2 separate regions of the Homo sapiens genome follow, and region 1 is linked to region 2. Evidence: promoter capture Hi-C in human tissues and cell types (Jung and others, 2019). All regions are on one chromosome and are shown on one strand. Each heading gives the region's core, a stretch centred on a gene start or on the middle of the fragment in contact. The rest is flanking DNA. Distances are from core to core; before and after follow the strand shown.

Evidence for each region. The method cuts DNA at HindIII sites, captures the fragments that hold promoters and counts their contacts. A contact is called where the count stands out against the background at its distance.
Region 1: a contact is called between a fragment that was not itself captured here and the fragment with the promoter of MAP3K4 in region 2, in 1 of the 25 tissues and cell types used here (dorsolateral prefrontal cortex).

Annotation. Positions count from the first base shown.
Region 1 is chr6:161,329,986-161,333,125 of GRCh38, forward strand. No RefSeq gene overlaps it. Among named protein-coding and RNA genes, the nearest start is that of AGPAT4, 57 kb to the left of the region's middle. The HindIII fragment of the contact is 7,948 bases long and covers 1-3,140 here.
Region 2 is chr6:160,990,221-160,993,223 of GRCh38, forward strand. MAP3K4 (mitogen-activated protein kinase kinase kinase 4) reads left to right here and starts at 1,549. Exons shown (of 27, transcript NM_005922.4): 1 at 1,549-1,863. The coding sequence starts at 1,712. It overlaps MAP3K4-AS1 (MAP3K4 antisense RNA 1), which reads right to left and starts at 2,122. Exons shown (of 1, transcript NR_174962.1): 1 at 98-2,122. RefSeq lists enhancers at 985-1,044, 1,065-1,134, 1,087-1,956 and silencers at 1,225-1,554, 2,017-2,311, 2,225-2,354. The HindIII fragment of the contact is 15,236 bases long and covers 1-3,003 here.

The DNA of each region.
Region 1 (3,140 bases), core at 58-2,557, 340 kb after region 2:
TTTTTTTTTGCTATGCAAGTACTTTTGTGGAGTTTTGCTTGCTTCCAACAATGAAGGCAAGTTTTCCTGCTTCATGATGATGGAAGGCAGGCAACTCTTTTCTGGACTTGCAGCTCACTTCCAACAGGCAAGGCAAGTTTGAGTTTTTCTCCTGTTTCTAGGATGGTAGAGAGCAGTCTTCAACCTGGGACCCATTCCTAGGTAAGTAGCTGAATTGTTCTTTTTTTTTTTGTCTTGGAAATTCTTCTTAATCACTAAAGTCAAGATTCACAACCAGCTAGTATTAATTACGCCTTACCATTAGAGCGCTCAGTAATCGTATAAATTGTGCAATTGTTTGTTTTGCTTAACTCTTTTGTTGTTGTTGTTTATTTGTTTCTGTTTTGTTGTTGTTTTGGTCTTTTTCCCATTGGGTTTGACCAACTCCATCCAACTTGATCAAATCCAAAGAAAAGTTTCAAATTATGGGGAACAAGTCCTCTGAATTGGCTACATTCCTGCAGCTGGAAAAAAAAAAGGAAAAAGAAAAAAATGGCCAGCAAAAGGGAAAAAAAGGGAACGATTTTTGATTTTGACTGCCCTAGGGGCTTTATTTCCATAACAAGGCCACGTTTTTGCTAGCCAAGCCACACTGAAAGAGAGCAATGGCTGTTGCCCCACTGCAGTTCAATAGCTTAGTTCTGCCCTTTTTTTCCACTACTACAGCCTGGGTTTGGTTCCTAAATCAAGTCCTTTTCGGTTTGATATTTGTGCTACTTTTGAAATATCAGCAATTTGGCCCAGCTAAAATATGGTAATAAGATTTTAAAAATTTGTTCTAAGGAGCTCAGTGGTTAAAAGTCAGCTTAATTAAAAGCTAATATCCAGTGTGTGTGTGTGTGTGTGTGTGTGTGTGTGTGTGTGTGTGTGTGTGTGTGTGTGTGTGTTTATTTAAAAGATCTTTTTTTCCTCTCGTAGAACCTTGTTTTTATAAGAAAAGTTTTTTTTCTTTCTTTCTTCTCAGTTGACCGAAATCTGTTTTCTACGTTAACTTTTGCTGCCTCTCCTTGCTCTTGACACGTTGCTACATGAGAGACCTAAAACATTTTCTAACAGCCTGTGATTCCTTAAAGAAAGCAGAGAAGGTGTCAGACTCCCCTTTGGGGTGAAACCTCTGTTTTTTATTTTGGAACCCTAAAAGTGTAAACAGACAAGTTCATCCTATATCTTAAATTCCTTGCTTTTGTATTGTGTTACCTGATGTTTTTTTTTTTTTTTTCTGACTAAAATAGTTACTTCAGCAGAGTCTACTCTTGGGTGTTTTACTTAAGGAAGAGTGTAGTTTAGACACTTAGAGAAATGTCTTTATTAAAAAATAGGTACACTGTAAAAGCATCATGTGTTCTAGTCTCAAAAAATTATATGTTTTGGGAGACACAGGATTCAGTGTGGGCTCTGCCCAGAGCTCAGAGATCCAGTTAAAAGCTAGAGACTAAATTTAGAACTACCTATCTAAATAAAATTGGTCTCCTTATACAATCCTATGATAGATTTCTATAGTTTCATGTTTGATTTGGCATCCGTTCTTAATCTCCCTCTAGCACATCAGACTCTTTCCCTCTGTACTTTGAGATGTAAACTTTGATATCTGATTTTTCCCCCAGGAGCTGTTTCCTTAATATGCAAACTTAGGGCTACCTGGCTGACAACTGGCTAGGATAATAAAACAGGTGTAAAAAGTAAAGTAGAGGTTCCTCTTCAAAGGCTTTCCTCCCCATCTAATTAAGAATAAATAGTAACTTCTCTTAGAAGCAAAATTTATTCAAAGGCCTGTGCTAACATTCTTAAGTATCTGTTAGCCGTAATAAGGAAATCAATGTACTTTATGTTCTTAGCTCCCACAATTTAGCCTAAGTATTTGCCCTGGCACGCTTATACTGGTCCAAGCAAGCATTAAGTCATAGCCTGTTCCTCTTCCATATTTGAAGGTGTTTTTACCTTTCTCAGCATTCCACAAGTTACTTCCTCCTTCCTTTGTTCTCCTCTGCCTTTGCCTCTTTTAAAAAGTTGTAAGTTGCTAGCCAATCAGGACAAATACAGAATGTGAGGTCCCGTTCCAGCTGATGGAAACCAGGCACAGCAGTAAGGTGGACATGTCAGGTTATAAATGACCCTGTCTCCTTTGTTCGGTGTACTCTTGTGGCAAAACTGCTGGCGAGTGTACCCTTTCTGCACAAAGTAAAAAAAATGGCCTTGCTGAAGAAATTAAATTTATGTTCAAGTGCTATTTCTTTATAGCACCGAAGAACAAACATTTCTAACACAGGTTATCAAGAAATTGGAAATCTAAAATAGGAGGAAAAAATAAGAGGGCTTATGAATGTATAAGATCTACTTTTATCTGCATGTCTAATACGTCTATGTATTTATGTGTCGTGTATATGAGATTTCACTACTAAAAAGACATAAAAGAGCTCTAATCAACTGGCTTAAAGAAGAAAAAAAAGCACTTATATCGAATACCTTATCAGAAGAAATGGAGACTTTAACAAAGGCTTTTTCAAGTTCATGTGACTTGAGTCAATCTTTAATAGATAAGCTGATTTTTAAAATATTGGTGAAATAGAATTGGAAATGGCTTCAAAATTGTCAATATACATTATGGTTTAAATTTACTGGTCAAGTATTTTTTTTTTTTTTTTGAGACGGAGTTTATGCTCATGTTACCACGCTGGAGTGCAATGGTGCAATCTCAGCTCACCGCAACCTCCGCCTCCCAGGTTCAAGCGATTCTCCTGCCTCAGCCTCCTGAGTAGCTGGGATTACAGGCATATGCCAGCTAATTTTGTATTTTTAGTAGAGACAGGGTTTCTCCATGTTGGTCAGGCTGGTCTCGAACTCTCAACCTCAGGTGATCCGCCCGCCTCAGCCTCCCAAAGTGCTAGGATTACAGGCGTGAGCCACCACGCTCGGCCTTGGTCAAATATTTTTATATTTATCTCTGCTAGGTGTCAAAATTTGGCAGGAGGTTATAAAACTATGAACACAGCCTGAAAGAGAATTATCTTTGTGTACAATTTAACAAGTAAGACATTTAACTCTGTTTAATGAAAACAGCTAAATCCTGAGTTACTGGCAAAACAGAAAAAAAAAAACACCTC
Region 2 (3,003 bases), core at 299-2,798:
ATATTTGCTAAGTGTTTTGTGACTTGGACACACGTGTCTGCATTATCAGCTAGCTTAAATTCGGTAGTCATACCAAAGAATACGTAGTACAATGCTGTTTAAAGAAGAGATTTATTTTATTATTTAACTTTTAAAGTCTCTAATATGCCTTCTAAGAAGGGTTCTGGCTCAGAAAATTGCAGAAGAAAATCGAGTAGAGAACTAGAATTACAGAAACCTAAGAAATACTTTTACTGAGCTTTCTTCACACAAGAAAATGCACGGAAATGAATTATACATGGATACCAATTTGTGATTTTTAAAAATTTGTAATTTTTTAAATTAAGATAAAAATTAGTTTATTTTTTTGAATACTTTTTTGTTTTGTTTTACCTCACCCTTTACTAAGCTGTTAGCTTGGTCTGTTGCGCTTACTGCTATATCCTCAGCATCTAGTACAGTTCCTGACACATATATGCACTTAATAAGTATTTGTCAAATGAATATTATTGAGTAAATAAGATGAAGGTCAATTCAGAAATTCAGCACTATCAGGCTATATACATAATACAGACTATTATAAAAAACTAGAATGGAGCAGTTCCTTTTAACGACGGAGAAATGTCAGTAACATACTTTGAGCACAATATAGCTAATTTCACAACTGGTCTTTAAATATAACATACCTATAATCAATTTAATGTTTTTCTTTGTTACCAGAGTTGTTCAAAACGTGCGTTTCACCTATCAAAGCTCAACTAAATGAGGTTTAAGAAATCTGCACATTTGAATGTACTTAATTTTAAAAGATTCTGGTTTTGGATTAACTCTGGATTTCACCCTATGGGAAATTTTGTAAATATTTCCAACTTAAAAAAAAACTGTGAAGCCCCAGCGCTAAGAGTAAACGATGCATTGGAATTTCAACAGGATTTCTGTAACTCTGAAATAATCTTTAGCATTTCTTCTTCCCCCCATCCCCTCAGTGTAGGAGCATTCCAGTCCAAGTTTCTGGGAGATCGCTATCGAATCTTATGACACTGGGGTGAGAAGTTTTGCCGGGTTGAAATGAGGGGGTCACTTTAATAATCTGGAATTCCGGAGACTTTATGTCAAGTCTTAAAAATTCGAGCCTGTGGAAGGCTGCGCTGTCAAGAGACCGGAGTTGCGAGCGTCTGGGTGACGTCCGTCCTCCTGGAAGGTGGGATCCGGGTGGCAGGTCCCTGGGCGGCGACTCCGGCCGGGCTCATAGCGTCGCGCCCGCCCCGCTCATCGGCCCTACCCAGCGTCCCTCCCAGACCGACGACCGCCTGGGAAGCCTCGAGCTCCCAGCCCGCTGCACAGCCCGGCTCCGCTCCACAGTCCCCCACTGCCACCGGCCGGGGCGACACCGGGCGAGCTGGCGAGACCCGGCTCCAGGACCGAATCGCGCCGACACTTGACGGCGCTCCCCGCCCCTCCCTGCCGCCGTCTCCGCCCCCGTCCGGTCGCATTCCGGCGCCCGCCGCCGCCGCCGCCACCGCCGCCGATCTGGGAGGCTTGTCCCTCGCCGCCCACCGTAGCCCCGGCGCTCGGCCGGTCGCCGTTTCCAAGATGGCCGCGGCGCGCACGGCTCCTGCGGCGGGGTAGAGGCGGAGGCGGAGTCGAGTCACTCCCGCACTTCGGGGCTCCGGTGCCCCGCGCCAGGCTGCAGCTTACTGCCCGCCGCGGCCATGCGGGGCTCCGTGCACGGATGAGAGAAGCCGCTGCCGCGCTGGTCCCTCCTCCCGCCTTTGCCGTCACGCCTGCCGCCGCCATGGAGGAGCCGCCGCCACCGCCGCCGCCGCCACCACCGCCACCGGAACCCGAGACCGAGTCAGAACCCGAGTGCTGCTTGGCGGCGAGGTGAGTGTGGCGGCCGCAGTCGGTCGCTCGCAGAAAGCGGGGCGGGTCCTGGCCCGAACTCGGTCGGGCCCGAGGGCCTCTGCTTCCCGCCAGGTGGGGAGGGAAGCATCCAGTCTCTGCAGGCTGGGGCGGGAGGGGCGCGGTGCATCCCTGGGTCCCAGGGGACCGCGTCTGAGTCTGTCCGGCGACTCCTCCCGGGGTTGCAGCTCCGCAGGGTTCCGCTCGAGCGTGTTGCCGGCTCCCCTTCCCTTGTAGACTCCCCCAGCTCACCCTCAACGTTGCGGGGGCTGGGAGCAGAGTGCGGCTGCCTCCCCTGCCGCTAGCTTCGGAAGAGTGGCCTCACTGAAGTGCCTCTCATCATTACTGAACGAAAGTGGTCCCTCCCCTCTGCCCTCATTCGAGTAAAAGAGACATTCGGAAATCGAGTGCGTACTGGCTATTTCCCCGCGTTCTCCTCCTCCTCTCCTTTTGCCCGCTCCAGAGAATGCCTGTCATCTCTTCCGTGAGAAATTGCACTTAGACTATGCAGACAGATACGTTGCTTTCCTGTTCTGAGGGCCCCTTACTGTCCTTTAGTGCTAGTATTGTGCAGATTGTTGCTCACACGTGCACAAAAGTAAGGATTCATTTGTCTAAAACTTTGCTACTGCAGGAAGCTCTAAGGTGGAACTTCGGTAACCAAAGCATTTGTTGCTTTTTCTTCCATACTCTATTAACTTATTTTTATGTCTTTATTTTTTTTTTAATTGAGAGAACAAACTCACCATAACTGAGAATTTCCCTCTTTTTACGTGCCTATGTTTGTATGTTCAAATGTCCTCTTACTCCCTGTCCTTTGCATCCCAGAGTAAACTTGCAAACTGCTGCCCCCTGTCCCCTGTAATGAAAATACCTCGGCAGCTCCTCTTGGCATCTTATGGTCTTGCTCTATGGTTCTAGGAATAAGGCAGTAAAGTGTCCTCTTTTTCCTGCTTAAAGAAAATTCACACCTGTAACTGTAGTTAGAACTGAACACAGGAGCCATATTCTTGCTTGTCATCATTCAGTTGGCCCAAACAAATTTGTTTTATTTTTATAAGCTGTGAAGAAATTAGTTGCCTCTTTTAATTCTGAGATAGTTCTGGGTACTTCTAAGGAACA